Regions from separate parts of the Homo sapiens genome. Here region 2 is linked to region 1. Evidence: promoter capture Hi-C in 16 types of primary human blood cells and fetal thymus (Javierre and others, 2016). All regions are on one chromosome and are shown on one strand. Each heading gives the region's core, a stretch centred on a gene start or on the middle of the fragment in contact. The rest is flanking DNA. Distances are from core to core; before and after follow the strand shown.

Evidence for each region. Contacts are between HindIII fragments. The CHiCAGO score rates a contact against its expected background, and 5 or more counts as called.
Region 2: a contact is called between a fragment that was not itself captured here and the fragment with the promoter of AP1S3 in region 1, in 1 of 17 cell types (M0 macrophages). The highest score is 6.1, in M0 macrophages.

What each region holds. Positions count from the first base shown.
Region 1 is chr2:223,835,654-223,842,257 of GRCh38, reverse strand. It overlaps AP1S3 (adaptor related protein complex 1 subunit sigma 3), which reads left to right and starts at 4,676. Exons shown (of 5, transcript NM_001039569.2): 1 at 4,676-4,810. The coding sequence starts at 4,808. RefSeq lists enhancers at 4,130-4,309, 5,180-5,269 and silencers at 4,480-4,609, 4,640-5,069. The HindIII fragment of the contact is 4,145 bases long and covers 1,007-5,151 here.
Region 2 is chr2:222,957,610-222,963,573 of GRCh38, reverse strand. No RefSeq gene overlaps it. Among named protein-coding and RNA genes, the nearest start is that of ACSL3-AS1, 41 kb to the right of the region's middle. RefSeq lists an enhancer at 3,092-3,191. The HindIII fragment of the contact is 1,221 bases long and covers 2,132-3,352 here.

The sequences.
Region 1 (6,604 bases), core at 3,427-5,926:
ATAACACTTTTCTGTGTTTTCCAAATCTGCAATGAACCTATATTATTTTATAATTAAAAATTTTCTGAAAATATTCTTTAGAAATATATTAAGTAGAGTTTTTCCATTTGGAATAATAGGCCCTCTTTTGAAAAGTAAAGGGGGTTTCTAAAGAGCATAAGGCCTCATACTAAAAGTTTCACCATGACAAGATGAATTTCTGAATGCTGCAGAAGGGATTACTGGAGATGTTGATTACTTAAGACATTAATAAGAGGGCATTAAAGAACAGCAGGACCAGGCTTCAATTAATGCCTGTGAAGGCACTGCATAAGCCGACTTTGAAGTTGGCCTCTCCTTTGCTTCTTTCAGTTTCTTAAACTCACAGCTTGATCTATCTCAATTTCTGTGAAGTCAGTATTTTGGTTTATAGATTATTATTATTTTACTTTATTATCAGGTCCCTAACTTGCTCTTCTCCCTTGCTGTGGACTTGATGGTGGCTTTTGCTGCATTCTCTCTGCATCTTCTGCTAATATTTAAATATAGAATGATCTGAGAAGTGAAACTCCTAAATCAAGTTGACCAAATGCCAGGGCATTGTTTTATGAGTAAATGTACACACACAGAATCACATGCACCAGCTCATAAACAACCTAACCGGAACCATGTAACACACTGTACTTGTCTTCTAGGACATTAGATTTTGAATCTAAAAGCCTCTTTAGGATCTGACCAGGGAACTCCTCTTTAGACTGGTACATCTTGAGTGATAGGGCCTCTGGGTCCTCCCTGGGGTTTTGCTATTTGTGGGCCACGTGTGGAGTCAGGAGTTTGAACAGAAGCAAAGATGGGATACAGAAGTCAAGACTAAGGCTGGGTGTGGTGTCCCATGCTTGTAATCCCAGCACTTTGGGAGGCCAAGACAGGAGGATCCGTTGAGGCCAGGGATTCTCGAGATCAACCTGGGCAACATAGTAAGATCCCATCTCTACAGAATTTTTTTTTTAAAGGAGAAGTCAAAGCTTAAAAATGCATGTTATTCTTCTGAGACAAATGACTGATGAAATAAACACTGCTTAACTCTCACTGTTGCGTTCTGAGTAGGTCTGTCAGGGGTAGGGCTTTAGGGGGAACCATCTTGAATCTTAGTGCCTTGATTCTAGGCTTATCCCTGCCTCTTATTAGCTTCTTTTTACACTTAGTTTATTATTATTATTTTTAAAATAGAGATGGGGTCTTCCCATGTTGCCCAGACTGATCTCAAACTCCCGAACTTAAGCAGTCCTCCTGCCTCGGCCTCCCAAAGCGCTGGGATTACAAGCCTGAGCCACTGTGCCCGGCCTGCCTCTTATTATTGCTGTTGAGCCTCTGAGCCTCAGGCTTTCATCTGTACCATGGCCACAGTGCTTCCTTTCTTACGGATTGTTTTGGGGGCAGCCAAGATAACCCTGTGAAGTGTCCAGCTCACTGCAGGCCTCCCTCTTCGGTGATTTGGGGTATGGTGTGAGAATCTGGAGGAAAAAACACTGGGTGGCAGAGGCCCCAGAGAGCATCCTCTGCCCATCTCAGCCAGGCCAGGAGGAAAGGCAAAGGACACTAATAATTTTTAAGTTACCTGCCCCCCTCAACCTCTACATCTTTAATTACACCCCCTCCAACCATAAGCCACACAGTAAGGGAAACTTCTCCTGCTTTATTTTTTTTAATTTTTATTTTTTGAGATGTAGTTTAGCTCTTGTTGCCCAGGCTGGAGTGCAATGGCACAATCTCGGCTCACTGCAACCTCCATCTCCCAGGTTCAAGCCATTCTCTTAGCCTCCCAAGTAGCTGGGCTTACAGGCATGTGCCACCATGCCTGGCTAATTTTTTGTATTTAGTAGAGACAGGGTTTCACCATGTTAGTCAGGCTGGTCTCAAACTCCTGACCTCAGGTGATCCACCTGCCTCAGCCTCCCAAAGTGCTGGGATTACAGGCATGAGCCATCGCTCCTGGCCTTTCCTGCTTTAATATTTGACTTAACTGTCATGGCAAGAGCACTGAGATGATTTCTTTAGCTTTTTTTTTTTTTTTTCCTTTTTTCTTCTGCGAGAATCTCGTAGTGTCGTCCAGGCTGGAGTACAGTGGGGATCTCGGCTCACTGCAAACTCCGCCTCCAGGGTTCAAACAATTCTCCTGCCTCAGCCTCCTGAGTAGCTGGGATTATAGGCACCCGCCACCACACCCAGCTAATTTTTGTATTAGGGGTTTCACCATTTTGGCCAGGTTGGTCTTGAACGCCTGACATCAGGTGATCCCCCCGCCTCAGTCTCCCAAAGTCCTGGGGTTACAGGCATGAGCCACGGCGCCTGGCCTGAGATTTCTTTAGCTTTGTAATTCACCTTTAGTAATTCCATTTCTTTCCCACTAGCAAAGAAACCCTTACAGCACAAGGCTCTGGATGGTGGCACAGAGCTGGGCCCTGCCCTGAAGTTACCTAGAAAGGAGGAGAAGCACAAAGATTAGATTCTATCTAGTTAGATAAAGCATGATGTACTGAGAAAGGGAAGGAACAGACCCTGGGGGAAGAACATAGGAGTTAAAAAGTAGCTGTCCTAGATTCACTTTTCTTTCAGGAAGCAAAATCATCCCATCGCCTGGGGTTTAACTGTTGTCAAATAGTCCTCTTCCAATGCCCCCGGCAGAATGCCACAAGTCCAGGTTTGAGAGCTTTGAGGCTGGAGGCTGTGGCTCTCCTGGGGGCTTGCAGTGATGCCCTAATGTAGAGAACACTCATTGCCTCTGGCCCCTGCCCACCTCTAGGCCTCCTGGCACTTAACTCACATAGAGGCCTTTTTTGAAGTGTTTCCAGAAGGACTTTTTTTTCTTCTTCTTCAGAGCGCTGGCTTCTCACATCCAAGTCTTCTGTCACCTCCCCAGGGGGCACTTACCTGACCACTCAGCTAAATCAATGTAGCTTCCCTGTGCCCATCCGAGGAACTCAAATATCTCCTTCTTAGCACTCATCTTAATTTCTTATATTTTATTTACTTGTTTATTATGTGTTGTCCCACAAGAGACGTAAGCTCCAGGAGACAGACCACCTGTTTGTTCCCAGCTGGGTCCCCCAGGCTCCTGTTGTAGGGCCTGGCCTAGAGTGATGAATATTTGCAGTGTGAATGCAGGGGTGGATGGAGTTTCCCATATTTTCAGTCACCTGGGTGGGCCTACATCCCTAGGAAGGTACACAACACATCCTGGGAAGGACTTTCACTGATTTGGGGTTCCAGGGACCACCCAGGAAATGACATTTTTTTTTTCAGACTGAGTCTCACTCTGTTACCTAGGCTGGATGATCTCAGCTCACTGCAACCTTTGTCTCCCGGGTTCAAGCGATTCTCTCCTGCCTCAGCCTCCCTAGTAGCTGGGACTACAGGCGTGTGCCACCACGCCCAGCTAAATTTTGTATTTTTAGTAGAGACGGCGTTTCACCATGTTGGCCAGGCTTGTCTCGAACTTCTGGTCTCAAGCGATCCGCCCACCTGGGCCTCCCAAAGTGTTGGGATTACAGGCATGAACCATCACGCCTGGCCCAGGAAATGATTCTTAACTTTTGCAGGGTCTAGGATCTCTTTAGCTATTTGATAAAACCAGTGGACTCCCTTTCTCAAAAACATGAATATGCATTAAAAACTCTGCTTACATCTAGTCTATCTGGTAAATATAATTAAAAGAAAAAAGAAAAAACTCTGTTTACAGCTTGGGGGTTTAGAGACTCTCAACGCCCTAGATTTAAGAAAAGTCAAGGGGAGGAGAGATTGGAGAACGAACTTTCTACACCACAACTTCTTAGGAGAGACTTCTTAAAAGGGGGTCGTGCTGCCGGGCGCAGTGGCTCATGCCTGTAATCCCAGCACTTTGGGAGGCCGAGGCGGGTGGATCACCCTGAACGCAGGAGGCGGAGGTTGCAGGGAGCCGAGATCGCCCCACTGCACTCCAGACGGGGCGACAGAGCGACACTCCGTCTCTAAATAAATAAATAAATAAATAAATAAATAAATAAATAAATAAATAAATGGGGGCCTGCTTAAAATGATCTTTGCCCTTAGACTGCAGAGCTTACTTTTTAAAAAGTGAAATGGGGGCAGAAGGGGATAAGAAAACGCTTCTAGTTCTTTCTCTTCCAACTGCTCCCTCCCTAGGAGGCTTAGGATAAGGCAGCCCCCGGCACTTTCTGCGAGTGTATCGGAAGTATCTTTGCCAGGTTTGATAAACGTTTGCGGAAGGAATACAGGACACACTCGCGCGGCAGAATCGCGAAAAGTCCCCGGTGTTCTCCGCGCAGGGAGTTCCCCGCGCAGGGAGTTCCTAGCGGGCCACGCGCTCTCGCCTGACCACCCGCGCCGAGCTGCGGGCTGTCGGGGTACAGACGCCCGCGCGCGCAGGTGCATTCGCTCCAGGTGCGGCCGGCTCGGGGCGGGAACAGCTGCAGCCGAGGCGGGGGCGGGGAGGGGGTACAGAGGAGAGGCAGAAAGGAGGGAAGAGGAGGAGGAGGAGGAGAAGGGAGGAGAAAGGGGAAAGGAAGAAAGAAGGAGAGCAGGAGGGCGAGGAGCGGGGGGAGCGGGGAGGAGGGCGCGGGGAGGAGGCAGCGGGGAGGAGCGTGCAGGGAGGAGGCAGCCGCGCTGGGAGGAGTCTGCACACTTTCAGTGCCAGGGCATTGTGGGAAGCAGCCATGGTCTAAGCCGGGCGCCTCACCTGTCAGCCGCACCGGCTCCAGCGCTCGCCTCTCGCCCTCGCTTCTCCAGCGCTCCTTGCTCGCAAGGCGGGGGAGGCGGCGGCCCAGCCACGATGGTGAGTGCGGGGGAACCGCCGGCCCGGGTAGGCGGTGGGGGCGCTCGCGCTCCGGGGAGGCACCTGGGGCGTCCGGGCCGGGCGCGCGGCCGGGTGGGGGTGCGGGCCGAGTCCCGCCTGGCCACCCGAACCGTGCGTCCCTGTGGCCCCGCTGCCCCAGACGGTGCGGACGCGCCAGGATCGCTTGCCCGGGATTCCTGCGGCAACGCGGCGCCGCGGCGCCGCGGCTCCATTCATTCATTCGATCCGCCTTAGCCGAGTGCTTAGTCTGTGCCGGGCTCGGTGCTGGGCGCTGGGGATGTCGCGGGGGACCAGGAGGAGCCCCTGTTCTCCAGGAAGCTTACCTTCCAGGAGGGGGATGCGGAGGGAGGGACACGTCCAATATACAAGTAAAATGAAGAGAACTTCTAAAGTAAGAAGCGCTGTAAAGTCTCAAATACAACCGGGTGGAGTGGCAACTTTTGATTTGGCAAAGCCTCTTCAAGGACATGACATTCTAGCTGCTGGAGGTCCTGGAGGGGCGCTACAGGTGGATTAGAGAGAGCAAAGCGGAGGGGAGAAGGCCTTGTTTGTGGCAGGAGAGGTGGGCTTCTGCCAGGTGAGGCGGGTTTTTATAGGCCAAAATAAGGAGTTTGGTTTTGGTTCCAACTGAGTAGGGGAAACCTCGGGGACGTTTTAGCAAGAAAACTGACCTTACCCGTTGTGCACTTTTGTTTTTTTGAGACTGATCTCGCTCTGTCGCCCAGGCTGAAGTGCAGTGGTGTGGTCTCGGCTCTGCCTCCCGGGTTCAAGCGATTCTCCTGCCTCAGCCTCCCGAGTAACGGGGATTACAGGCGTGTGCCACCACACCCAGCTAATTTTTGTATTTTTAGTAGAGACGGGGTTTCACCATGTTGGCCAGGCTGGTCTCGAACTCCTGACCTCAGGTGATCCGCCTGCCTCGGCCTCCCAAAGTGTAGGGATTACAGGGGTGAGCCACTGCACCCGGCATGGTGTGCAGTTTGGCTGTGGTTGGAGAATGGACTGGGGTGTGTAAGGGCAGGGGATAGGGGGTCAGGTTGGAAGCTGAGGCCGGCCGCAGCCCTGCTGATGAGAGATCTGGTGACCTGCACTTGGGTGGAAGCGATAGCTCAGGCTCCTCTTGCTCTTGCCTGCTGTTTAGGGGCAGCCTTTTAAGAGTGTGGTGGTCTGAACGTCACTAGTCCCACTTCCCCAAGTGTGTTACCACTTCCCAAATCCGCAGAAGGGAAGTGACCTGCACCCTGTGGGCCCACCGGAGGCAGGAGTGGGTGGGCCACGTGGGCTAAGAAAGTTGATCAACAAAGAGAGCCGGGGAGTGCTGAGCACCTGGCCAGCAAGACCGCAGTTGCTGGTTTCTGTTAAAGGTTTGGCTGCACACACTAGCGGCATCATTTTTGTCTGTTGAGGGTTCCTTGTAAATACAGCGTGATGCAAAAACAATGCTGTAAATAATGGAGCAGGTTTCTTGGCTTGCTCAAGTTTCCCAAGGAACAAGGTGACAGATGCCCAGTCCACCAGTGTAATTTGCCTAACAGAGGCTGGAATAAGGCCCTGCGTTTCTGAGTCATCAAAGGCTGCTTTTGTGCTGAGGAATGGGCCAAGGTTTGGTCTATAAGGAAAAGCTGCTCCTCTGGACAATACCTGTGGTGGAGTTTTATTTTTTCTTGCTGGTGTCATATGTGTGATGAGTTGATCAGAAATGTGGGAAGTTTCTCCAGCTTTTCTACCAGTTTTTGCTAAATGGGAAACATTATTATTATTTTTTTTTCTTCG
Region 2 (5,964 bases), core at 1,493-3,992, 880 kb after region 1:
TCTCATGTTGTCACATTTCAAAACCAATCATGCCTTCTCAGCAGTCCCCCAAAGTCTTAACTCATTTCAGCATTAACCCAAAAGTCCACAGTCCAAAGTCTCACCTGAGACAAGGCAAGTCCCTTCCACCTATGAGCCTGTAAAATCAAAAGTAAGGTAGTTACTTCCTGGATACAATGGGGGTACAGGTATTGGGTAAATACAGCCATTCCAAATGGGAGAAATTGGCCAAAACAAGGGGGTTACAGGGCACATGCAAGTCTGAAATCCAGCGGGGCAGTCAAATTTTAAAGCTCCAAAATGATCTCCTTTGACTCTAGGTCTCACATCCAGGTCACACTGATACAAGAGGTGGGTTCCCATGGTCTTGGGCAGCTCCATCCCTGTGGCTTTGCAGGGTATAGCCTCCCTCCCAGCTGCTTTCACAAGCTGGTGTTGAGTGTCTGCAGCTTTTCCAGGTGGACGGTGCAAGCTGTCAGTGGATCTATGATTCTGGGGTCTGGAGAATGTGGCCCTCTTCTCACAGCTCCACTAAGCAGTGCCCCAGTAGGGACTCTGTGTGGGGGCTGTGACCCCACATTTCCCTTCCGCACTGTCCTAGCAGAGATTCTCCATGAGGGCCCCACACCTGCAGCAAACTTTTGCCTGGGCATCCAGGCATTTCTATACATCCTCTGAAATCTAGGTGGAGGTTCCCAAACCTCAATTCTTGATTCCTGTGCATCTCAGGCTCAACACCACGTGGAAGCTGCTAACTGAGCTGTACGTAGGCCCCTTACAGCCATGGCTGGAGCAGCTGGGACACAGAGCACCAAGTCCCTAGGCTGCACACAGCACGAGGACCCTGGGCCTGGCCCACGAAACCACTTTTTCCTCTTGGGCCTCTGGGCCTGTGAATGGAGGGGCTGTCTCAAAGGTCTCTGACATGGCCTGGAGATATTTTCCCCATGGTCTTGGGGATTAACATTAGGCTCCTTGCTACTTATGCAAATTTCTGCAGCTGGCTTGAATTCCTCCCTAGAAAATGGAATTTTCTTTTCTATTCCATAGTCAGGCTGCAAGTTTTCCTCTGCTTCCCTAATAAAATTGAATGCCTTTAATAGAACCCAAGTCACCTCTTGCATGCTTTGCTGCTTAGAAATTTCTTCCACCAGATACCCTAAATCATCTTTCACAAGTTCAAAGTTCCACAAATCTCTAGGGCAGGAGCAAAATGCCACCAGTCTTTTTGCTAAAACATAACTAGAGTCACATATACTCCAGTTCCCAACAAGTTCCTCATCTCCATCTGAGACTACCTCAGCCTGGACCTTATTGTCCATATTGCTATCAGCATTTTGGACAAAGCCATTCAACAAGTCTCTAGGAAGTTCCAAATTTTCCCACATTTTCCTATCTTCTTCTGAGCCCTCCAAACTGTTCCAACCTCTGCCTGTTACCCAATTCCAAAGTGGCTTCCATATTTTTGGGTATGTTTTCAGCAACACCCCACTCTACTGGTACCAATTTACTGTATTAGTCTGTTTTCATGCTGCTGATAAAGACATACCTGAGACTGGGAAGAAAAAGAAGTTTACTTGGACCTACAGTTCCACATAGCTGGGGAGGCCTCAAAATCATGGCAGGAGGTGACTTCTTACATGGCGGCGGCAAGAGAAAAATGAAGAAGCAGCAAAAGCAGAAACCCCTGATAAATCCATCAGATCTCATGAGACTTACTCACTATCACAAGAATAGGATGAGAAAGACTGGCCCCCATGATTCAATTACCTCCCCCTGGGTCACTGCCACAACACTTGGGAATTCTGGGAGATACAATTCAAGTTGAGATTTGGGTGGGGACACAAACAAACCATATCACAGTCTGACAGTAAGATTGGACTAATCATGTAATATATGATAGATATATCATAGAAATAGAAATCAGTAAATGATTAAGGTTGATTTAGATTAATATTTGAGATTGTTCCAGCCAAAATATGACACAGACATCAACAAAAAAAATGGCACAGTCTATCCAAGGACCACACCAGCAGCAAGGCAGGTGAGGGTCAGACCATATGGAAACTTGGGCACCAAGAAAAAGGAGACTGAATTCATCATAACAGCCATGAAATGCCATTGAAAAGCTTGTAAAAGAATATAATATAATTAGCATATGGTCAAGTAATTCCATTGCTAAGTATATATCTGAGAGAAATGAAAACACATCTACGCTCAAAAACTCTTATATGTGAGGCCAGGCACAGTGGCTCATGCCTATAATCCCAGCACTTTGGAAGGCTGAGGTGGGCAGATCCTTGATGTCAGGAGTTCGAGACCAGTCTGGCCAACATGGTAAAACCCTGTCTCTACTAAAAATACAAAAATTAGCCAGGCGTGGTGGCACATACCTGTAATCTCAGCTACTCAAGAGGCTGAGGCACAATAATTGCTTGAACCCCAGAGGCAGAGGTTGCAGTGAGCTGATAGTGCCACTGCACTCTAGCCTGGGCAACAGAGCAAGACTCCATCTCAAAAAAAATAACAAAAACTCTTATATGTGAACCTCTCAGAAGCATTATTCAGAATAGCTGAAAAGGAGAAACAGCCCAAATGTCCATCAAGTGACTAATGAATAAACAAAATGTGATATATCCATGCAATAAAATATTATTCAGCCAAAAAAAATGAAGTACTAATACGTGTTACAACATAGATAAACTTTGAAAACATAGTAAGTGAAAGAATCTAGTCACAAAAGACTATGTATTATATGATTGTATTTATGTGAAATGTCCAGAATAGGCAAATCCATAGAGACAGAAAGTAGATTCGTGGCTGCCCAGGAATGGGGTGTGGGGGAACAGGAGGTGACTGCTAATGAATACAGGGTTTCTTTTTGGGATGATGGAAATAATCTTAAAATTAGATTGTGGTGATGTTTGCACAACTCTGTGAATATATTAAAAAGCATGAATTTTATGCCTTAAATAGATGAATTGTGTGGTATGTGAATTATATCTCAGCAAGTTATTTTTTAAGATGTAATTAAATTTATGTTTTGGAAAGATCAGCCTGGCAGTCATGTGGGAAAAAATTAGAGGAGTATAGAAATGAATGCAGAAAGGCCAGTGAAGAGGCTATTTTTACCATCAACGTGGTTATGAATGACAGAAGGCACGAGTGGAGGTGGTGGTAGAGAAAAGTGAATCACTCGAGAGAGACTCAGAAGGCACAAGACACAGGAGTTGGTGCTTGGTTGGCTACGTGCACGAGGGTGAGGGGGAAGTCCAGCATGACTCCCAGGTTCTAGCCAGATGGAGAAGTGCTACACTCACCACATTAGAGCAGAGTGCAAGAGGACCAAGCTTGCTTCTGTGCACAGGGTTATTACGAATTTAGCTTGGAGGTACTTTTGAGACATTCAAGCAAAGATGTTTAGCAAGTAGAGAAAGTGCTACAACAGACATGTGTGGGTAACCTTCATGTAGCAATGAAGCTCTGAGATTGGGTGAGACCACCTGGGAAAAGAGGACTGAGCCTAAAGAACTCACTCTGTTTCAATGGCTGGATAGAAGAGGACAAGCTGAAGAAAGGCCACGAAATGTAGGGGAAAGCCAGGGACGTCATCAGGGAACACCTGGGCTTCAAGAACCATGGATCTGTGGCATTGAATGGTGCTGTGAAGTCAAGGAAGACAGAACTAAACTGTGTGCACTGGATTCAGTGACATCGTGTTTTGGGGGCTGTCTGAAAGAGCTGCTTCCCTGGAATGATGTGCCCAGAAGCCAAATTGTGTTGGGCTGGAGAGTGAATAAGAGGGGAGGAGATGGAGATTAGGGGTCTTGGGTTAGGTTTTTCAGATGCAGACTGGGACATTCAAGTGCAAGTGATTGATTAAAATGCCCCAAGAAAATGCCAGTCAGGGGAGGGAAAGGAGAACAAAGAAGACAAGAGAAGGAGGCCAACCAAGGTGCAATCTCAGGAAACGCCAGCAGAGTGTGGCTTCAGCCGGATCCTGGATCCCACTGGAGAGCTCTGTGGTGTCAGTTGTTCCAGCCTGAGGCGAGGGAGCGTGGCTTTCAAGCATTGCCCCTGAGTCACCCTGAGTAAATTCTAGGAACTTCTGGAATGTACTGAAATTACCTAGAATATATTCCAAGGCCTTCTGGATCTGTGGAGGGTGGAGGTGGGAGCTGAGTGGTTCTCATAGCCCAAAGGCAGTCCTCATGAAGCCATAGTGCTGGGTGTTAGAAGCAAAAGCACGCTGAAGGGGGGCAGGCACACACACAAAGCAGGGATTCAAAGGTCTGGGTGGACAGCCAACACTGTCTGATACATCAGATAAGAAAACATTATTTTGAAAAGTTTGACTTTGAAGAATAGGAGAAAGACAAAATCATAGCTGGAGGGGAAAAGGGACAGTTTTGATTTAATGGGAACAACTCACAAATGTTTAAAATCAACATGAAGAGTCAAGTTGAAAGAGAGAGGTAAGCTATTCAAGAAATGAAAGGATAATTGATCATAGAAGAGTTGAGAAAGAAGAAAGAGAACAGGTGCAAAGCACAGATGAAAATGTTGGCCTTCCGTTGACAACTTGCAAAGGGCACTCAAATACAGAGCTCATTCAAACCTCACAAAATCATGGGAGACTTTTTTAATGTGCCTACTCCATGCAGCCTTTTTTTACATGAACTATTTCATTTAATCCTGATAACTCAGTGAGGTAAAATACTATCACTTTACAGATGAAGAAACCAAAACTCCATTAGAATTTTGATTGGCTGCATGTGACTGGAAACTCCAAGAAATAGTAACATAAACAAGTTAAAAATTTGTTTTTTATCTCATGTAAAAATGTCCAGTGGCAGGCAGTCTTGGCTTGGTATGGGGCTCCTTGATAATTAAGGACACAGGCTCTTTCTGTCTTGCTAATGCAGCCATCCTGATGCATGGCTTCCATTCTCAAAGTCACCTTGCGGCCCAAAAAGCCCTCTAGAGGTCCAGCCATTACATCCCAATTCCAGGTAGTAGCAAAGTGGTGAAGGAGAAGGATCTAAAGTACCATATAATGATTCCACTTATTTCTCTTTTACCAAAATTTAGTCTCATTATCACACCCAGGTAAAGTTACATCTAGATTGCAGTTCTTTAGCTGAATCCACCGCTGACTGAGTGAGTTTGGGGTTCTGTTGCCAAGAAGGAGTGAGAAAATGGGATAGGAAATCAGCCCTCTGAAACACTGAGTAATTTGTTGAAAGCTATCTGTACTATCTCCACTACTCTTCAACATGTACTATAATCTTAGACAGTACAGCTAGATAAGATAAACTAAGCAGAATCATACAAATTTGAAAAAAGTGAAACTATAGCTATTTGCAGATGACATGAAAGAATACCTGGAGAATCTTAGAGAATCAATGATAAAACTAGCTCAAAAGATTCAAATAAGATAGCAGGATAATAAAGCTAATGTACAGAAATCAATAGTCTTCATATACGTAAGCCATAACCAATTAGAAAGTTTTATGATAAAACCTCATTCACAATAGCAACAAAGAAGGTATAGCAATAAACTTAAGAAATGTGCAAAATCTACATAAGAAAAACTTTAAAACAATTCTAAAAGAAAAGTTGACATGAACGAATGAGAGACATACTATATTTTTATTTTCTATTATTATAAATTTGAAAAATCTTTGTGGGTAGATAGCCATTGTAAATATTTATGGGGTACATGAGACGTTTTGATACAGGCATGCAATGTGAGATAAGCACATCATGGAGAATGGGGTATCCATCTGTCCCCTCAAACATTTATCTTTTGAGTTACAAACAATCCAATTACATTCTTTAAGTTATTTTCAAAATACAATTAAGTTATTATTGACTATAGTCGTCCTATTGTGCTATCAAATAGTAGGCCTTATTCATTCTTTCTATGTTTTTTGGTACCTATTAACCACCTTCACCTCCCCC